Regions from separate parts of the Homo sapiens genome. Here all the other regions are linked to region 1. Evidence: promoter capture Hi-C in 16 types of primary human blood cells and fetal thymus (Javierre and others, 2016). All regions are on one chromosome and are shown on one strand. Each heading gives the region's core, a stretch centred on a gene start or on the middle of the fragment in contact. The rest is flanking DNA. Distances are from core to core; before and after follow the strand shown. Region 1 holds the start of SAG (S-antigen visual arrestin). Region 2 overlaps GIGYF2 (GRB10 interacting GYF protein 2). Region 3 overlaps GIGYF2 (GRB10 interacting GYF protein 2). Region 4 has its middle 1.7 kb from the start of SNORC. Region 5 overlaps NGEF (neuronal guanine nucleotide exchange factor). Region 6 overlaps NGEF (neuronal guanine nucleotide exchange factor). Region 7 has its middle 6.0 kb from the start of NGEF.

The links. Contacts are between HindIII fragments. The CHiCAGO score rates a contact against its expected background, and 5 or more counts as called.
Region 2: a contact is called between a fragment that was not itself captured here and the fragment with the promoter of SAG in region 1, in 1 of 17 cell types (M1 macrophages). The highest score is 5.1, in M1 macrophages.
Region 3: a contact is called between a fragment that was not itself captured here and the fragment with the promoter of SAG in region 1, in 4 of 17 cell types (naive CD8 T cells, total CD4 T cells, erythroblasts and 1 more). The highest score is 7.7, in naive CD8 T cells.
Region 4: a fragment that was not itself captured here is called in contact with the fragment with the promoter of SAG in region 1 in 5 of 17 cell types (monocytes, neutrophils, M2 macrophages and 2 more); the score reaches 5.6 in monocytes.
Region 5: a contact is called between a fragment that was not itself captured here and the fragment with the promoter of SAG in region 1, in 1 of 17 cell types (erythroblasts). The highest score is 5.1, in erythroblasts.
Region 6: a contact is called between a fragment that was not itself captured here and the fragment with the promoter of SAG in region 1, in 1 of 17 cell types (erythroblasts). The highest score is 6.2, in erythroblasts.
Region 7: a fragment that was not itself captured here is called in contact with the fragment with the promoter of SAG in region 1 in 1 of 17 cell types (erythroblasts); the score reaches 5.6 in erythroblasts.

Annotation. Positions count from the first base shown.
Region 1 is chr2:233,306,466-233,309,311 of GRCh38, reverse strand. SAG (S-antigen visual arrestin) reads right to left here and starts at 1,496. Exons shown (of 16, transcript NM_000541.5): 1 at 1,290-1,496; 2 at 48-150. The coding sequence starts at 122. The HindIII fragment of the contact is 2,146 bases long and covers 379-2,524 here.
Region 2 is chr2:232,821,669-232,824,514 of GRCh38, reverse strand. All of the region lies in intron 21 of GIGYF2 (GRB10 interacting GYF protein 2), which reads right to left. Among named protein-coding and RNA genes, the nearest start is that of KCNJ13, 47 kb to the right of the region's middle. The HindIII fragment of the contact is 2,469 bases long and covers 253-2,721 here.
Region 3 is chr2:232,849,963-232,852,808 of GRCh38, reverse strand. It overlaps GIGYF2 (GRB10 interacting GYF protein 2), which reads right to left. Exons shown (of 29, transcript NM_001103146.3): 28 at 2,400-2,547. Among named protein-coding and RNA genes, the nearest start is that of SNORC, 19 kb to the left of the region's middle. The HindIII fragment of the contact is 2,651 bases long and covers 19-2,669 here.
Region 4 is chr2:232,867,167-232,870,012 of GRCh38, reverse strand. It overlaps a transcript of SNORC not described here. Among named protein-coding and RNA genes, the nearest start is that of SNORC, 1.7 kb to the left of the region's middle. The HindIII fragment of the contact is 2,660 bases long and covers 19-2,678 here.
Region 5 is chr2:232,883,929-232,886,774 of GRCh38, reverse strand. NGEF (neuronal guanine nucleotide exchange factor) reads left to right here. Exons shown (of 15, transcript NM_019850.3): 10 at 1,406-1,495; 11 at 2,631-2,794. Among named protein-coding and RNA genes, the nearest start is that of SNORC, 15 kb to the right of the region's middle. The HindIII fragment of the contact is 3,527 bases long and covers 1-2,846 here.
Region 6 is chr2:232,913,686-232,916,531 of GRCh38, reverse strand. The region is part of intron 5 of NGEF (neuronal guanine nucleotide exchange factor); the gene reads left to right. Among named protein-coding and RNA genes, the nearest start is that of SNORC, 45 kb to the right of the region's middle. The HindIII fragment of the contact is 4,119 bases long and covers 1-2,846 here.
Region 7 is chr2:233,017,849-233,020,694 of GRCh38, reverse strand. No RefSeq gene overlaps it. Among named protein-coding and RNA genes, the nearest start is that of NGEF, 6.0 kb to the right of the region's middle. The HindIII fragment of the contact is 3,372 bases long and covers 1-2,846 here.

The sequences.
Region 1 (2,846 bases), core at 247-2,746:
TTTTAAACAATAATTTCTATCAAATCACTCACTTGTGCACCACTCACCGATTTGTCCCGGGAGATCTTCTTGAAGATAACATGGTTCGGTTCGGACTTGCTGGTCTTCCCGCTGGCTGCCATGTTATCTGTCCCTGGCAACTTCTACCACCTTGGGGTGTTGGTCAGGTGTTAGAGGGTTGGAGAAAGGTAAGACAATCCTAAATATCAAGTCAAGAACATCCTAGTTATGAAACCTACTCACGAGATCCTGTGCGTCCTCACCATGCCCTTGTACCGGCTTCAACATCCGAGTTTCATCGGTGAGTCTTTGCTTAGTTTGTATTTTACTGCAGCATGCTTTGGGGTGTTTTCAATATTTTATTTTTCTTGGTAAGCTTCAAACATTTCTCAGTACACCTTGCCAGGGAGTCTAGCTAGATTCCAATGAGGTTTTACTTTCTGACTAACCTTTGGTGTTATCACACTTAGCCAGGTTGAATTTAAAGTTCTATCGTGACTGTGTCTAATGGCGAATAAATCAGAAAAGTTCCTGAAAACCACAACATAACCACTTCGCAAAGACTGTTTTCAAGAAGATATTAATGGCCGGGCACTGTGGCTCACACCTGTCATCTCAACATTCTGGGAGGCTGAAGCGAGAGGATCATTTGAAACCAGGAGTTGGAGACTGGCCTGGGCAACATAGCAAGATCCTATCACTTTTTTTAAAAAAAAAGAATATATTAAAATCCCAAAAGTTCTATTTGGCAATTCCTACTAAGAGATAGCCACTCTGTTTTACAATTAAGAGGCCATCTTAGCGGTCTAGAATTAAGCATACTCTGAGGTTTTTTTTTTTTTTAAGATATAGGAGCTCGTTCTGTTGCCCAGGCTGGAGGGCAGTGCCACAATCATAGCTCACCGCAGCCTCGAACTCCTGGGCTCGTGATCCTCCTGCCTCAGCCAGCTGAGTAGCCAGGACTACAGGTGTGTGACACCATGCCTAGCTAATTTATTTTTATTTTTGTTTTTTTGTAGAGACTGGGTCTGACTGTATTGCTCAAGTTGGTCTCGAATTCCTGGCTTCAAGTGATCCTCCAGCCTCAGCCTCCTGAGTCACTGGGACTATAGGCATGAGCCATTGCACCCGCTCACTCCAAGTCTCCTTAAATAGCAACCAAGTCTTATGGAAACCACACAGAAAAGGTGAAGGCGGGACATACTGTCTGCAGGAAAACGCCCATCCTTGCTCTTCCCCACACCTGCCCCAGGTTTCTGATAAGGTTTTGGCCTGTGGTGGTCACATACCTTGTGATTTGTCACCAACCAGGTGGGAAGGGCCGGGTGGCAAGGAGAGGGTCTCTATGCTCTGAGATGATGAATAGCCAGCCCCTGTTCTGAGCAAGCTGGTACCGTCTTGCCAGATGAGCCTGAAGGGGCACCGCTGAGGCTCCTGGCCTACGTATGTGGGGAATTTGTAGGGGATCTAGCGAGGATGCCCAGCATCCAGGTCTCAATGTCTAAAAGCCAAATCCCACTTAAGGAGCAGAGTTGGATTAGTGCTGAGACAGTGAACTGGTAGTTTCAGCAGTTCTAAGCATTAAGCAACACCCCCCGCCCCGGTCTCCATACGGAGGGTCTCACAGATGTATGAGTCACCCAGCTGACTTGGGGAAGGTTGGTGGGAGGGCCAACAGCTAAATGAAAGCTACTTTTTCTTCTAAACCTCTTTGGATTCTGGAAATAGACTGATTATCTCTTCATTCCCGGGCATTGCCAGGACAGGAAGAGATTTGATTAAACTCAGCAGGCAGCTAATGCGACCTTGCGGGTGGGGACTAAACAAAAAGGTCAAGGAGAAATGTCAACCTCAAGATGAACCTGGTGTTATGCAAGCCAAGCTGGATCTGTCCCTCTCCTCCACCCGGTCCTACTGATTGATGGCTTCAGGAGTCCTGTTGATCCCCTCAGTGTCTCTGGAACCTGTCTGCATCCTCCCATCCCCAGCACCGCCTTTGCTTCTCAGGACCGGAGTGATTCCCCACTGTCTGACTACATCTATTTCTTTTCTTTTTTTTGTTTTGTTTTTTGTTTTGAGATGGAGTCTTGCTCTGTCTCCCAGGCTGAAGTGCAGTGGTGCAGTCTCAGCTTGCTGAAACTTCTGCCTCCCAGGCTGAAGTGCAGTGGTGCAGTCTCAGCTTGCTGAAACTTCTGCCTCCCAGGTTCAAGTGATTCTCTTGCCTCAGCCTCCAGAGTAGCTGGGACTACAGGCGCCTACCACCACACTGAGCTAATTTTGTATTTTTAGTAGAGACAGGGTTTTACTATGTTGGCCAGGCTGGTCTCGAACTCCTGACCTCAGGTGATCCACCTGCCTCGGCCTCCCAAAGTGCTGGGATTCCAGGAATGAGTCACCGCACCCAGCCGACCACATTTATTTCTACCCTCCAAGCCCTTTTCCACACAGAGGCAGAGAGACCTTCTGAGCCCTGTCATCCCTCGCTTACAATCACCCATTGCTCTTAGAATGCAGGCAAAAAGCTTGCAGCCTCTGGAACCTCTGCCTGCCTTTCCTTCCACGCCGTCTGCCACGCTTCCTCCTTCCCACTATTATTTCTGCCTGGAACAAGCCTCTCCTCTCTCCACTTTGTTGACTCTTCTTGGCCTTTCAGATTTTTGACCAGGAGTCACTTCCTCAGGGGAGCTATCCCCAACCTCCAGGACCAGATTGGAGGCACGCTTGCATTTCACTCTTTTTTTTTTTTGCTTTCGAGATAGAGTCTCACTCTGTTGCCTGGGCTGGAGTGCAGTGGCGCGATCTCGGCTCACTGCAGCCTCCACCTCCTGGGTGCAAGCGATTCTCCT
Region 2 (2,846 bases), core at 238-2,737, 480 kb after region 1:
AGGCCTTGTTCTGGATTAGGCTTTGGCTTAAGGGAATGTTGCGGCTGGTCTGATCTTCTATCCAGACCACTAAAACTATCTCCATATCAGCAATAAGGCTGTTTGGCTTTCTTGTCATTCATGTGTTCACTGGAGTAGCACTTTTAATTTTCTTCAATAACTTTTCCTTTGCATTTACAACTTAGCTAACTGGCACAGGGGGTCCTAGCCTTTGGCCTATCTCAGCTTCTGACATGCCTTCCTCACTAAGCTTAATCATTTCTAGCATTCAATTTAAAGTGTGAGACATGACTCTTCCTTTCACTTGAACCCTTAGAGGCCATTGTAGGTTATCCAATTGGCCTAATTTCCATAATGATGTGTCTCAGCGAATAGGGAGGTCGAAGGAGAGGAAGAGAGACAGGGAATAGCCAGTCAATAGTCAGAACATGCACTATAGGTATGGATTAAGTTTGCTGCCTTACATGGGCACAGTTCACGGCACTCCACAACAATTTCAATAGTGACATCAAAAATCACTTATTACAGATCACCGTAACAGATATAACAGTAAAAAAAATCTGAAACATTGCAAGAATTACCGAAGTGTGACACAGAGACAAAGTGAGCACATGCTGCTGGCCAACAGACTTGGTCGATGCAGGGCTGCCACAAGCCCTTCAATTCGTAAAAAATGAAATACGTGCAAAGCACAAGAAAGTGAAGCACAATAAAATGAGGTATGCCTCTATTCAATGAAGAAATAATTCCAATCTTACACAAACTTTTTCGGAAAACAATGAAAGTATCACATTCCAATTTAAGAGGCCAGTATAAACCTAACACCAAAAGGGGACAAAAGCATTACAAGAAAATTACAGGTCAGGTTGCGGTGGCTCACTCCTGTAATCCCACCACTTTGGGAGGCTGAGACAAGAAAACTGCTTGAGTCCAGGAATTCAAGACCAGCCTGAGCAACACAGCAAGACCCCATATCTCTACAAAAAATAAAAAAATTAGCCAGGAGTGGTGGCATGAGCATGTGGCCCAAGCTACTGAGGTGGCTGAGGTGGGAGGCTTGACTGAGCATGGTAGGTTGAGGCTGTAGTGAGCCAAGACTGCAGCCTGGGTGACAGTGTGAGACCATCTCAATAAAAAAAAAAAAAAAGAAAGAAAGAAAGGAAAAAGAGAAAGAAAATTGTAGACCTATCTCTCCCTCATGAACACAGATGCAAATATTCTTAACAAAACAGTACCAAATTAGATGCAAATATTCTTAACAAAACAGTACCAAATTAGGTTAACATATGTATCAAGTAGGGTGGTAATCCAGGAACACAAAGTTGACTTAACCTTCAAACCTCAGTTATTAATAACTCAGTTATTAATATTAATATTAATAATTCACCATATAAGCAGAATGAAAAAACTAAATGATCATCAATCAATGCAGATAAAGCATTTTACAACCTCAGTATCTATTCATTGAAAAACTTTCAGTAAACTAGGACTGGAAAGAAACTTCTTCAGCTGGATAATGGATACCTATGAAAAACTATCAATATATTTAATGGTGAAATACCGGACATTTTCACCCCAATACTGGAAATAAGGCTATTATACATTTTAACCACTTCTATCCAAGGTTGGAAAGGAAGAATTAAAACTGCTCCTATTTATCAATAAGATTCCATAGAAAATCCTAAGGAATCAACAAAAATACTATTGGAGGTACTAAGTTGAGTTTCACAAGGTGTCAGAATATAAGATCTATATATGAAAACCAATCAATTCCATTTCTATAGAACTGGCAATTCCAATTCCATAGAACTGGAAAATAAACAGCTTTTCCCCCTCCGAGACAGAGTCTTGCCCTGTCGCCCAGGCTGGAATGCAGGGGTGCCTCGGGTCACTGCAACCTCCGCCTCCCGCGTTCAAGCAGTTCTCCTGCCTCAGCCACCCAAGTAACTGGGATTACAGGCGCACGCCACCACGCCCAGCTAATTTTTGTATTTTTAGTAGACACAGGGTTTCACCCTGTTGGCCAGGCTGGTCTCGAACTCCTGACTTCGTGATCTGCCCGCCTTGGCCTCCCAAAGTGCTGAGATTACAGGCATGAGCCACTGCACCCAGCCTGCTGGAAAATAAACTTTTAAAATTCCACTCATAATAGCAAAAAAGAAAAAAATCAGTTTTTTAAAGATGTACATAACCTGTATAACGAAAACAAAATGGTACTGAGAAAAAACAAGGAAAACATAAACAAATGGAAAGTTATACCATGTTCATTGCCTGGAAGCCTCAGTATATCTTAAAATGTGAATTCTCTTCAATTTAGATTCCACACAATCCATATCATAACCACAGGAGGCTTTTACTTATATAGAAATTAAGAAGATAATTTTAAATTTTAATAGGAAGGCAAAAGATCTTAGTCAAGCAGTCTTGAATAAAAAGGCAAAGCTGGAAGACATACTGACTTACTTCTGTTACTATAAAGGTACAGTAGTAATCAAATCAGTGTGTACTCATTTAAGGACAGGCAAACTTATCAATGGAAGAAAAGGGAAGAGTCCAGTAAAAAAAAAAAAAAAAATATTTATACAATTGACTTTGACAAAAGCATCAAAAATTCAATAGAAAAAGTAAAGACTTTGCAAAAACAGGCACTGGAACAACCCATACCTCATATCATACAGAAAAAACAATTCAAACTATTTGTAAAACGAAAACTATAAAGCTTTAAAAAAAATACAGGAGATATTTTAATAATCTGTAGGTTGGCAAGTATTTCTTACATAGAAACAAAAAAACACTAATAAAAGACAAATTTAATAGGATTTCATCAAAATTAAAAATCTCTGCTT
Region 3 (2,846 bases), core at 95-2,594, 460 kb after region 1:
TCCTCAAGTCCCAAAGCTTCTTAGCTAGAACCCACAGTTAGAATTTAAGGAATGTTTTAAAATCTATTCACCAATTTCATCCAAATTGGAAAAAATTTCAGGCTGCTCCATCCATCCTTATCAACTTTTGAGACAAGCAGAGGAAAACAGAATTGCACCAGATCTACAAGTTCCCAAACCCAGCTTTCAGGCACCAATTCTTTGTTATTATTATTTTTAAATAATATTTTAAACATTATTATTTTAAATTATTATTTTTTTGAGACGGAGTCTCACTCTGTCGCACAGGCTGGAGTGCAGTGGCGTGATCTCAGCTCACTGCAACCTCCGCCTCCTAGGCTGCTCAAGTGATTCTCCTGCCTCAGCTTCCCGAGTAGCTGGGATTATAGGCACCCACCACCACGCCCAGCTAATTTTGTATTTTTACTAGAGACGAGGTTTCACCATGTTGGCCAGGCTGGTCTCCAACTCCTGACCTCAAGCGATCCACCCGCCTCAGCCTCCCAAAGATCTGGGATTACAGGCGTGAGTCACCGCGTCTGGCTTCAGGCACCAATTCTAAAGGACAGTCCTAAAAGTTAGGTTTTACTGTCATGTTGTTTTCACCAGGGCTGGAAGGCTCTGAGGGAAAGAGAGAATCCTACCAAGGGTACAGTAAGGTTACCACCTGCCTCTCACTGTGCGGGGTCTCACGCTCTTCATGATGTCCCACAGACATTTCAAACTCAACCCAGTCAACACTCAATTCCCCTCAGCCTGTGCCATGTTCCACTGCTTATCATTTCACAGCAAATGGCAACACCATCCATCCATCCTGGTCCCCAAGCCTGAGACCTTTCCACTCTTCTTGTCCAGTTAATTCTATCCCCTACATTTCTGAAATCCATCTAACTCCTTTTCATCCCCACTACCAAAACCCTATTCCAAGTCACTGGTATCTTTTACCTAGTCTATACTGCAGCCTCCTCACTGTTCTGCCCTCCTGACAGGACAACAACCGGAACTTCCATCCTTGCGAATGTATTCTATTGCAGACAACATGGTTTTATAGCCACTAATTTTACATTCACAAATAGAAAATAATTTTAGGGCCGGGCGTGGCGGTTCACACCTGTAATCCCAGCACTTTGGGAGGCCAAGGCAAGAAGATCACCTGAAGTCAGGAGTTCAAGACCAGCCTGGCCAACATGGCAAAAACCCCTCTCTACTAAAAATACAAAAATTAGCCAGGTGTGGCGGCATGTGCCTGTAGTCTCAGCTACTCAGGAGGCTGAGGCAAGAGAATCGCTTGAACCCGGGAGGCAGAGGTTGCAGTGAGCTGAGATCACGCCACTGCACTCCAGCCTGAGCAAGAGTGAGACTCCATCTCAAAGAAAAAGAAAAAGAAAAAAAAAATGTTAGTTTCATCACTGTTGCAAAAAACATGGGCAGCCTATACTGTTTGTTATTCCTGAAACAATATTCCCCATCCTTTCTGCCATTCTTTCAAAGCCCAAATTCAGATGTCACCTTTTCAGAGAAGCTAGAGTGCAGTGGCATGATCACAGCTCACTGCAGCCTTCAACTCCTGGTCAAGGAATCCCCCTGCCTCATTCTCCCAAGTAGCTGGGACTATAGGTGGGCACCACCATGCCTGTTTTTAAAATTTTTTTTAGAGATATGGTCTCGCTACGTTACCCCAGCTGGTCTCAAACTCCTGGCCTCAAGTGACCCACCTACCTCAGCTTCCCAAAGTGAGCCACCGTGCCCAGCCTGCCTTGCATGGTCCATAATGCTAGATAAAAATAGCCGTGGGTAACACAGAAGGGTGGAAAGAAAACAGGCCTGCCTTGAAATCCCAGCATCCCATAGCAGAAAGCTATGTAACACTGGGAAATGTTCTCAATCTCTGTGCCTTGGTCTACTCATTATTGGTGAAACTGGTATGTCACCTCATAATGCAAAGTAATTCTGAGAATTATATGATACATAGAGTGATTATGAACATATACTGGTTCTCTTCTTGGAACACCTGATCGGATTAATGGTCTGCTTTCAATACAAATAAGCATTTAAGTTTTTAACATACTTTTAGTATCGTTCATTATTAGCATCATTTTCCAACTAAATTACTCAGGATCCTCCAGGGAAATTCATATTAAATATCAAACAATACTTTAAAGCACCAAACAATACTTTAAAGCACCATACAATATAAGTTGTTATTACATGAGGCACAGGTCCTGCACTGAGACGCCCAGTAAATACTGGCTACTTATTTTGAACCAGTTAAAACATTAGTTATTGATAAAAAGAAATATTTCCCTTCTTGAAAAACAATGCTCAATGGAAACTCACACAGGATAACTGGTATCACCTGCACTCCTCCAACACTCAGCTGAGACTAGGACCGTGCTCACCTAATAAACTGGGATCTGCTCGGACCATCTTCTGCTTTTTCTTCTTCTTGCCACTCTGCACAGCCTCAAAATTGGATTGTTGGTTGTTGCTTTGATTGGTCTGAAATACTGAATGGAGTGTACTGTGGTTCATCCCCCACACAGAGTCCTGTGAAATAAGCAGCATGACTGAGATTACACAGCAGATTCAGACTTGGCTCACCCTAGGAAAATGTTTGGTTTGTCCTCACCTTATCAAGAATGAGCTTAAAAGCAGAAAAACAAAAAGCTTTTCATCACATGTTCTAATAATAAAATCAAGAGCGGCCACTGAGCCACCATTTTCCTCTATTTAGACCAAGACATCCCACTCAGGGCTCAGTGCCTCCACAAAGCCTGTCCTGGTTAACTCTGGGTTTCCACCCTGCTGTGACGGCAGAACTTCTCTGGTACATACAGAGTCTGTAT
Region 4 (2,846 bases), core at 99-2,598, 440 kb after region 1:
ATGAAAGGTTTTCAAGCTTTCTTGTGCAAAAGAATCACCCAGGGAACTTGAAACATGCTGCTGCCTCTGGCCACTGTGTTTCAGTGGGGCTTGGGTAGCCCAGGGAATCTGCATGTTAGTGCCTGTGGCCTGGGCTTGGGGAAATTTGGCCTGAAGCAGGCAGCACTGAGTGCAGGACGGACTCTGCTCACCTCTGGGTTCTCCATGCCTGGCCCGGAGTAGGTGCTCAGTGCTTGTTGAAGAAGGACTTTTAAAGCAGTTTTGATCCAAACCCTCAGGCAGCTCTAGTCTTTCCTAAAACGCTCCTGTTTCCTCTTTCGCTCTCTGCCTCCCTAGACCCCTGTGCACTTATGACATCCATTTCCAGGCTGGGCCTGGCTCAGAACTTAGCCCCACTGCCCACTGCTTCTCAACAGCCCCGCAGGGTATCTCACGAGCGGCTACAACTTACAGTGTCCAAAGCAAACCTTGACTCTACTGCCCCTTCCCTCACTCAGTCAGTGGAATCCCAGTTCCCCGCTCCCAGATGTTCTAGCCACACAATGAAGTCATCAAAGGTGTCTCTTTCCCTCACTTCCCACGTCTGAGCCCTCAGAGTTCTGTCAGCGCCCCCTACTTCACACCTTGATGGTTTCCCACCGCGCTAAGGGCTTGCCTCGGCCCTGCTCAGCTTCCCACCCACGAGCTCTATGTTTCAGTCCACTGGCCGTGACTAGGCTCCCCCAACAAACCCCCAGATCCTGCCTCAGGCCTTTGCATGTTCCCCTCTCCTCCCAGAAGGCAGTCCTGTGGTGATTATGTGGCCACCCCTTCCATTCAAGCCTCAGCTTGATAAGTCAGCCCCTCAATCCCCCCATCACTTCAAATTTCTTTTTAGCATGCGTATTTATATGAAATTACCTTGTACCTACCCTAACAACTTCTCCTTGCCTCCATATCCATAACTAGAATCAGGTATCAGCATTCCTAGGGAGAGCAAGCACAAAGTCTGACTTAGGAGGAAATAAGCACAAACTAAAAACTACTGTTAATTTATGCTAGCAATAAATTAGTATCAAGTTAGTAAGATACGAATTTTGCTAATTTATATTAATAGAAACATGGTGTGGGAATGAATTCTAAGGTGTCAGACTAAATAGGCAAGATGTGAGTATGACATTAGATCCGGCCACATTCTAGACAGGGGTGTGCTTAGTGAAGTCTGAATTTAATGTTTCAACCTAAGCATCTAGGAGCAGCTCTGTTTGGCTGGCTGACCAAAACCTAGGCTCAGTAAAAGCCTGGATGCTATGAGATTGAGAAGCCTAACTTAATGAAGAAGGGGATACCAATGGCTTAGTAAGAAAGGAATGTTGGGGTGGATTTATCTTTGGCGACCACACTAAGTTCTCAGTAGGTCCCATAGTACACACTATTCACCAAGACACTGCGAGATGCATTAGTGAAGACCGGCAACTTTAAAAAGATAGGTTGTGGCTGTTTTTTGTAGGCCAGAGTTGATGATGGGATCACTGATTTCAGAGGAAATAATGTGATTCTAAAGTAGCAGAGGCCAAGCGGCAGCAGAGGCCGGGTGGACGCCAACCCTGCCATGGATGGTGAAGATGAAATGACCTGGCCAGGTGCGGTGGCTCCCGCCTGTAATCCCAGCACTTTGGGAGGCTGGGGCAGGCGGATCACTTGAGGTCAGGAGTTCAAGACCAGCCTGACCAACATGGCGAAAACCCATCTCCAATAAAAATATGAAAATTAGCCAGGCATGGTGGTGCACACCTGTAGTCCCAGCTACTTGGAAGGCTGAGGCACAAGAATTGCTTGAGCTTGGGAGGTGGAGGATGCATCTCAAAAAAAAAAAAAAAAAAGATGAAATGACCCATCAGAATGTTTTGATCCCTAGGAATAAAACAGCCAGCCAGTCTACTAATGTATTACTTGATATACAAAAATGAACAGGTGAGCAGAAATCTGTATTTACTATAATGGAGCATCAAGGTTCTCACTTGGTTCCCAGAACCAAAATCTCTTGATAGAGAGGGAGGCAATTTATCTTTAAGGAAGGACCCTGCAAGATGGCCACAAGTACAGACAATGAATCTTCTTCCAAATCTTCCTCAAAGGTTTAGGCAGTCGTGGACCAGAATAGCTGGGCACTGGCGGAAAGGAGATGCATTTGTATTTCAGGGATCACTAGACTTTGGCTTTTTGCTGACACTCATCTTTGGATATTCAAAATGTCACTGTGTTTACCAAAGTGAAAGTGTATGGAAGTCAAGTGACATATGGATGATAGGGAGGGAGGCAGGCTGCCCAGGGGCAGCAGTGGGCTGAGAACCCACCCTGGGGAGGCAGGACGAGGCAGGCGTGAGCCAAGGCTGCAAGCTGCTGCTGCGTGCTCCACTATTCCATCAGACTTTACTTATAAAACTCAAATTTCAAAGATAAAATTAAGAATTTCAAGACAATGAATTGTATTTCAAATGATTATTATAACCATGCTAAAGGTAGAAAAAAATACTTAGACCAGACAAAAAGTCTAAAATTACAGATAGCTGCAATGAATAATACTATACATATGTATTTTTATAATGTTGGAGTGTCTTTAAGCAAGTATAGAACTCTACTTGGAAAACTTGTCTCTAGTTAGAGCTAACACATATAGAACTCTAGTTTAGAAAGCTTGTCTCTCTTGGTATGGGTTAGCAATTCTGTAACCACTTTGGTATATCCTAGGATTTAGCAAATAAGGAAATACTGAGGATTATGGAAGTGCACAGTAGTACTAGTCATTCGACAGACAGGTGATTCCCCAACAAAAACACCAAGGAAGTGTGAAGCTATTTTTTAGA
Region 5 (2,846 bases), core at 170-2,669, 420 kb after region 1:
GGCCCGTGAGGGGCCCACGTGCCCCAGAAGGCTCTCCCTGAGGTCAGCCCTGGGCCAGGGGTATGTTTTCTGTTTTTAAAGTTCTTTTCTGCTTTCATCTTCATTTTTCTTATAATGAAAGGTATTCTCTGTTTCTAATAGCTTTTTTTTTTAAAAATGAAGGTTTATTTTTTCTCTGATTTATGAAAGTAATTATACTCAATACCAGGAAACTCAGAAAATGCTTGTAAGTAAAAAGAAAATAAACTTCACTAGCCACCTCGCCCTCCCTGCCGACAGGCTGCAGCTCGCCCTAAACAGACGCCTGTGCACACACACCTGTGCACAGCACACTCGCAGGGCACACACTGCACACACGGCACACGCACAGCACATACACGCCCATACATATCACACACAATACACACCGCACACACATGGCCCCTCATCACACAGTACACACTGCACACACACACAGCACATACCACACACAGTACACACAGCACGCACACACACATACACGGCCCCTACATATCACACAATACACACTGCACACACACACAGCACATACTTATCACACACAGTATGCATAGCACACACAGCACACATGGCACATACATATCACACACAGTACACACCGCACATGCATACACAGCACACACTGCATATACACAGCACACACATGCACACATGGCACACACAGCACACACACCACTGTATTCTTTACAAAAAGGGCTTGTGGTTTAGAAACAGCTTTGCCCCGCATTCGAGTGCAGGTGGAGTCCCTGCCTCTTTCCTGGATTTCTGTTCTTGCGTATCTGCATAGATCATAACTATTTTAATCGAATCCACTGATGGCTGTTGAGGCTGGCGAGCGTGTTTCTCACTCCAGACAACATGGCAGGGAGGCCCTCGCGCACACTTCCCTGGACATGGTGCTCATTTATGTGCCCTGAGAGCCTGCGGCGAGCCTGGCCCTGTGCCGGGCCCCATGTGTCACTGCAGAATTGTCTTCCTTCAGAACGAGTCCTCGGGAGCCCCAGGAAGCGTGGGATTTTTAGGTCCCTTGGTGCCTGGGTGGCCACCCAGGGGGCTGTGGGGAGAACAGCCCGGAGCCCTGCCGGTCCGTCCAGCCTACAGAGGAGGAGGGATGCCTCACGCATGTGTTTTCTGGAGTTTGCTTCCTAGCAAGGGCAAGGCACCAACTTTCTCCACCCAAACTAACAGGTTTTCCCACTTGCCTTTGCCCCACAAGGTGCTAGAAAGAGGAGCTCCAGTCCGACTGAGACTGGCCAGCCAGCCTCAGCTGTGGGCACAGTGTCTGGTCACGGTGGTCACTCAGCCCTGTCTGTGGCCTGACCGAGCTGGAGGAAGGGGCCGGGACAGCCGGCTTTGGTGGCCTGATGTGCCCTCCTTCTTGTCCCAGGTGGTGAAGGCATGCAACGAGGGCGTCAGGAAAATGAGCCGCACGGAACAGATGATCAGCATTCAGAAGAAGATGGAGTTCAAGATCAAGGTGAACCGGTGGGATTGGTGTGAGCCTGTGCCCATGCACAGGCCCCTGGCCCCGCCCCAGAGGCACAGATCACCGCGCCTGGCTGGCCTTGCTTAGGTCCTTGGTCACTGGCCACACTTAGGATCCCCTCTGCCCCCTGACCTCCCCAGCTGAAGCCACCCCGCCTGCCACCAGGCGTCAGACACCACCACGGTGGTCCGGATCTGTCTCCTGGGAGACGGGAGTGCGGGGCTAGTGTGCGGCCCAGACCCACGCAGGGTGTGGACCCTGCTCTCACCTGCCCGCTGCGTGGCCTTGAGCAGTCAGTTTACATGGAGGATGTGGGGGGTGCTGCTCCAGGGATTCTCAAACCAGGAGGATTTGGAAGTTACCAGCTTCCCCCAAACTTCACAGAAAACTTCAGGCATTCGTGAACCCTCAGGTCCCCTGGGCCCGACTTTCTGGGAACTTGGCCACATCAGCACGCTGTGCCCACAGACGGTCCCTGAGGCCAGGCTTGGTTTGGGAGCTGAGCCCCACTAGAGGAGGCAGAGGCGGTCTTCTGGGCGTCCCATGTAGCTCCACACGGTGCTGACCGATGGCTGCCAGGCGCCTGCCCCTGAGTTGCATCGTCTGCCAGGCGGCCGTTCAGCTGCAGGCCTGGCCTCCTTGCCCCGCGGGTCCCATTCTTTCCTCTCTACTGTGAACTCAGCCCCTTCTCTGATTCTGCATCCCACAGGCAGAGCTTGGTGGGGGCAATGATGACAGACACTAGCTGCCACACTCACAGGCACACACACGGTATCCACACAGCAGTGCACACATGTAAACAGCAGTGTACATGCACACAAGCACGTGCACATAACTTTAAGCTCACATGTGGGTACACAACACAGTCCATACACATAGAAGTCCACATGCACAGCACACACACGCATAGCACACTCATGCCCACAGGGGTGCATGTTCACACACACACACACAGCCCTGCCATCTCTCTGCATCCGTCCAGAACTCGGCCTTTCCCCCCAACTTGTGCCTCATGTGTCGGGGCCCTGGGCAGGTGTCAGGGAATGTGACAGACGCAGCCCTGGGGGCATGTCCTGGGGAGGGACATTGTGGGCACAGCCTGCCTGATGCCCTTTCCCCGCTGCAGTCGGTGCCCATCATCTCCCACTCCCGCTGGCTGCTGAAGCAGGGTGAGCTGCAGCAGATGTCAGGCCCCAAGACCTCCCGGACCCTGAGGACCAAGAAGCTCTTCCACGAAATTTACCTCTTCCTGTTCAACGACCTGCTGGTGATCTGCCGGCAGATTCCAGGGTGAGTCGGGGCCCAGGGCATCAGGCGCTCCGGTGGGTAGAGGAGTGTGTTG
Region 6 (2,846 bases), core at 140-2,639, 390 kb after region 1:
GTTCTTTACATTTATCTTCTTGATTTGTAGCAGCTTTTTGTACCTTCTGGATATTAATTCTTTTTTTTAATATTTTCAAATGTTTTCTCCTGCACGATAATATAAGGGACGCAATTTGTGCACAGCCACTGGTGCCCAACTGCCTAGGTTTCTCAGCTCCGCTACTTCTTAGCTGTGTGACCTTAGGCAAATTACTTAACTTCTCTGTGCCTTATCTGTAAGATGGAAATCCTAGTACCTACCTCTCAGGCTTGTGCAGATTGAATAAATAACACAGATAAGGAGCTGAAGACAGTGCGTGGCAAAAAGCTGACATTATCAAGGGCTTATGTGCCCTCTCACTTGGTCCATGGCATCTTCTTTTTGGATAAAAATCCTTTTTCCATTTTGATAGCAAATCTTTCAGTACTTTCATTTATTTAAACCTAATCTTCGGATGTTGTGTCTTATGATTAGAAAGGCTGTTCCCAAGAGGTACACTTTACAGTGAAAAGGTAATGGCTGGGAACTGTTATGAACTAGACAAAAAGATAGAGCAGAAGGCAGGGCACAGAGGCTCTTGCCTGTAATCCTAGCATTTTGGGAGGCCAAGGCAGGTAGATCACCTGAGGTCGGGAGTTCGAGACCAGCCTGGTCAACATGGTGAAACCCCATCTCTACTAAAAATACAAAAATTAGCTGGGCGTGGTGGTGTGCGCCTATAGTCCCAGCTACTTGGGAGGCTGAGGCAGGAGAATCGCTTGAACCTGGGAGGCAGAGGTTGCAGTGAACCAAGATCACGCCACTGCACTCCAGCCTGGCAACAGTGAGACTCCACCTCAGAAAAAATAAATAAATAAATAGAGCAGAATCTGTCAGAAACAAGAGGAGACGTTGCCATGCGCACTCCACTATCCTACAGGAGTGGGACCCAGCAGGAAGATGGGGAATCAGAAAAAAATAATTAGGTTGGATGAAAAGATTTGTACTGAACTTTATACTCTCTAGAGCTGCCCTGCCCGCTCTGACAGCCACCAGCCACACGTGGCTGCTGAACACGACATGTAATGAATCCAGTTGAGATGCAGTGTGTGTGTAAAATGCACACCAAATTCCAAAGAATAGAAAGAATTGAAAGAGATAAATACAAAATTAAATGAACTTCTGAGATGCCAGCTTGAGACATTAGGGGAAAACACACAACAAACACTCCTAAGGAGAACAGAGAGGACAGAGATCCAAGAAGATACTATGCAAAAGTCTTGATAAGATGAATGATTAGAAAAAACAGATGAATGATTTTCTAGGAAAATATAAGCTACTACCAATGGAATCAAAAGTAAAAATTTTAAATACACAAAAATATACCAGTAACCCCAAAAAATCACCTACAGGAAAGATGTGGCACCCAGAGGACTCCTGTTCAAATCCCAGGAGAGCCAGGAGGGTCTGGGGTTACTTAGGCTGGCCTGCAGCAGAGCCGTCTGGTGGAATTCCCTGCCTTGATGAAAATGTTCTTTTTTTTTTTTTTTTTTGGAGATGGAGTCTTGCTCTGTTGCCCAGGCTGGAGAGCAGTGGCACAATCTCGGCTTGCTGCAGCCTCTGCCTCCCAGGCTCAAGCGATTCTTCGGCCTCAGCCTCCCGAGTAGCTGGGATTACAGGCGTGCACCACCACGCCCAGGTAATTTTTGTATTTTTAGTAGAGACAGGGTTTCACCATGTTGGTCAGGCTGGTCTTGAACTCCTGACCTCGTGATCCACCCACCTCAGCCTCCCAAAGTGCTGGGATTACAGGCGTGAGCCACTGCACCTGGCCAGAAATGTTATTTTGTATTTTATTATTATATTTTTTGAGACAGTCTCACTCTGTCACCCAGGCTGGAGTGCAGTGGCACAATCTTGGTTCGCTGTAACCTTAGCCTCCTGGGTTCAAGCAATTCTCGTGCCTCAGCCTCCCAAGTGGCTGAGACTACAGGTGTACACCACTACACAAGGCTAATTTTTCTATTTTTGGTAGAGATAGGGTTTCACCATGATGGCCAGGCTGGTCTCAAGCTCCTGAGCTCAAGTGATCTCCCTGCCTCAGCCTCCCAAAGTGCTGAGACAGGTGTGAGGCACCATGCCTGGCAATGATGGAATGTTCTACATCATGTCTCCAATAGTCACTAGCTCCGTGTGGCTACCGAGCATTTGAAACTGGTCAGTGCAACTAAGAAACTGAATGTTTAATTCCACCTGGTTTAAACAAACATCAGTTTAGCCACATGTTGCTACTGTGTTGATCAGCGTAAGTCTAGAGCAGAGATCATCAAACTTTCTGTTAAAGGGCCAGATAATAAATGTGTTAGGCTTTGTAGACCATACTGTCTGTCAGAACTACCCAGCTCTGTCGTTGTGGTGTGACAGCAGCTATAGACACTGTGTAAAGGAATGAGTGTGGCTGTGTTCCAGTAAAACTTTATTTACAAATACAAGTGGCCAGCCCATGGGCTGTAGTTTGCTGACCCCTAGTCTAAAGCATGGAAAAGAGAGAAATACACAAATTATCTGAACACAGTATAATATTGATAACCAAATCTGAAAATTAGGGTACAAACACAAAATTATTTTATTTTATTTTACTTTTATTTTTTGAGATGGAGTCTCACTCTGTTGCCCAGGCTGGAGTGCAGTGGCAGGATCTCGGCTCACTGCAACCTCTGCCTCCCAGGTTCAAGTGATTCTCCTGCCTCAGCCTCCCGAGTAACTGGGATTACAGGCACGTGCCACCACGCCCAGCTAATTTTTTGTGTTTTTAGTGGAGACATGGTTTCACTGTGTTAGCCAGGATGATCTCAATCTCCTGATCTCGTGATCACCTGCCTCAG
Region 7 (2,846 bases), core at 191-2,690, 290 kb after region 1:
GGAAGTGGAGAGAACAGGTGCAGTCAGGAAGACTTCCTGGAGGAAGAGGTAAGACCTGGGCTAGACCAGGAAGAAAAGTGAAATGTAAGAAGCAGAGGAGAACATTTCAGTGGAGAGCACAGGGCCCAGCACACAGTGGGTGCTCTGTTGGATTCTGAGGAAGGGAGGGGAGAGGTGTGGAGAAAAATCCCTGTGGTCAGGGGATGGTGCCTGGCTTTCCAGGATCGTCATTACTTTAATCTGTTTTCTTTTTGATGGCTTTTATGATTTTTTCTTTCTCCTTGATGTTCTGCAGTTCCATTATGGGCTGTTCAGGTGTGAATTCACTTTCATTCACCCAGCCTAGGACTCAGCACAGTTTTTCAACCCAGAATTCAGGTCTTTCTCCAAACCTAGAAAAATCCTCAGTCATTATTTCTTTGAATGTAACCTCTCCTCCTTGAGTTTTTAAAATTTATTCTGTAGATTTTGTTTTTGCTTCTTTCATATTTTCCATGTCTTTACCTGCTGGTGCTTCATTCTGGGTAATTTTCTCAGATATCTCTTCCAAATCACTAAATCTCACTAAATCTTTTTTATTATTATTATTATACTTTAAGTTCTAGGGTACATGTGCACAACCTGCAGGTTTGTTACATATGTATACATGTGCCATGTTGGTGTGCTGCACCCATTAACTTGTCATTTACATTAAGTGTATCTCCTAATGCTATCCCTCCCCACTCCCCCTACCCCACGACAGGCCCCGGTGTGTGATGTTCCTCTTCCTGTGTCCAAGTGTTCTCATTGTTCAATTCCCACCTATGAGTGAGAACATGCAGTGTTTGGTTTTTTGCCCTTGTGATAGTTTGCTGAGAATGATGGTTTCCAGCTTTATCCATGTCCCTACAAAGGACATGAACTCATCCTTTTTTATGGCTGCATAGTATTCCATGGTGTATATGTGCCACATTTTCTTAATCCAGTCTATCATTGATGGACATTTGGGTTGGTTCCAAGTCTTTGCTATTGTGAATAGTGCCACAATAAACATACGTGTGCATGATGGGACGTATCTCAAAATAATAAGAGCTATTTATGACAAACCCACAGCCAGTATCACACTGAATGGGCAAAAACTGGAAGCATTCCCTTTAAATCTCACTAAATCTAAAGTCATCTCTATTTAATATTTTATATGTATATTTGAGATGGAGTCTCACTCTGTCACCCAGGCTGGAGTGCAGTGGCACAATCTTGGCTCACTGCAACCTCCGCCTCCTGGGTTCAAGCGATTCTCCTGCCTCAGCCTCCCAAGTAGCTGGGATTACAGGCACCCGCCACCAGGCCCAGCTAATTTTTTTATATATTTAGTAGAGACAGGGTTTCACCATGTTGGCCAGGCTGGTTTTAAACTCCTGACCTCAAGTGATCCACCTGCCTTGGCCTCCAAAAGTGCTAGGATTGCAGGCATGAGCCACTGTGCCCGGCCTACATCAATATTTTTTATTTCTACAACTTCTACCTTAAAAAATAATAATTTTCTTTTCTTATTTGATAGATTGTATTCCTTTATCTCATTAAGCACTTTAAGTGTATTTATTTCTAACAGTTTTACATACATTAATTTATTTAATTCTAACAGCAACTCTATGAAACAGGTGCTGTTTATCACCCCAATTTTGCAAAGCAGAAAATGAGGCAAAATGTGATTATGTGACTATTCCAAGGTCACACAATTAGTGATTTGTTGATTGAGATTTAAAAGCAGAAACAAAGGCATTTGAGCTGTTATGGGCTAAATTGTGTAATCTCAAAATTCATACGTTGAAATCTTCACCCCCAGTACTTCAGAATGTGACTATATTTGAAGATAGAGCCTTATTTATTTATTTATTTATTTAGAGATGGAGTCTCACTCTGTTGCATAGGCTGGAGTGCAATGATGCAATCTTGGCTCACTGCAACCTCCACCTCCCAGTTTCAAGCAATTGCCCCAGCCTCAGCCTCCTGAGTAGCTGGGATTACAGATGTGTGCCACCACATCCAGCTAATTTTGTATTTTTAGTAGAGACGGGGTTTCATCATGTTGGTAAGGCTGGTCTCGAACTCCTGACCTCAGGTGATCCACCTGCCTCAGCCTCCCAAAGTTCTGGGATTACAAGCGTGAGGCACTGTGCCTGGCCAATGGGGCCTTTAAAGAGGTAATTAAAGTAAAATGTGGTCATACGGGTGGGCCCTAATCCAATAAGATTGGTGTCCTTATAAGAAGAGAAAATTAGGACACAAAAGCGTGTGCACACACAGAGGAAAGACAGAACACAGAGAGAAAGCCACCACGTGCAAGCCAAGGAGAGAGGTCTCTGAAAAACAAATCTGCTGATACCTTGATCTTGAACTTTCAGCCTCCAGAACTGTAAGAAGTTTCTGTTGCTTAAGACTCCCAGTCTGTGGTAATTAGTTATAGCAGCCCTAGCAAACTAATACACTTACCTTCTTCACACACAAACATTTCTAACCTTTTCCTCCATCCAAGGTCAAGTACTTATGAATGCCAAGTTTGCTAAAACTTGTTATCATCTGACTGAGGCCAGGAGAGTCTTAATGGTTGTACTTTGAAATCCCAAGAAGGTAATTATGTCACACACCCACTTCTGAAATGAAACGCATACTTAGTTTTTAAGGTCTTTTTAAATATTGTTCTATTGTTTCTATTTTCTCATGTGTCAACTCTCCCATTTTTGTGGGATGTATTTCTTTATGTTGGACTTTCTCAAATGTTTTACAATTTGGTATTATCATGTTTAATAAATTATATTCTTCATATTGGTCTTCCTTAAGACCAATATGTTTTATAATTTCTGCCT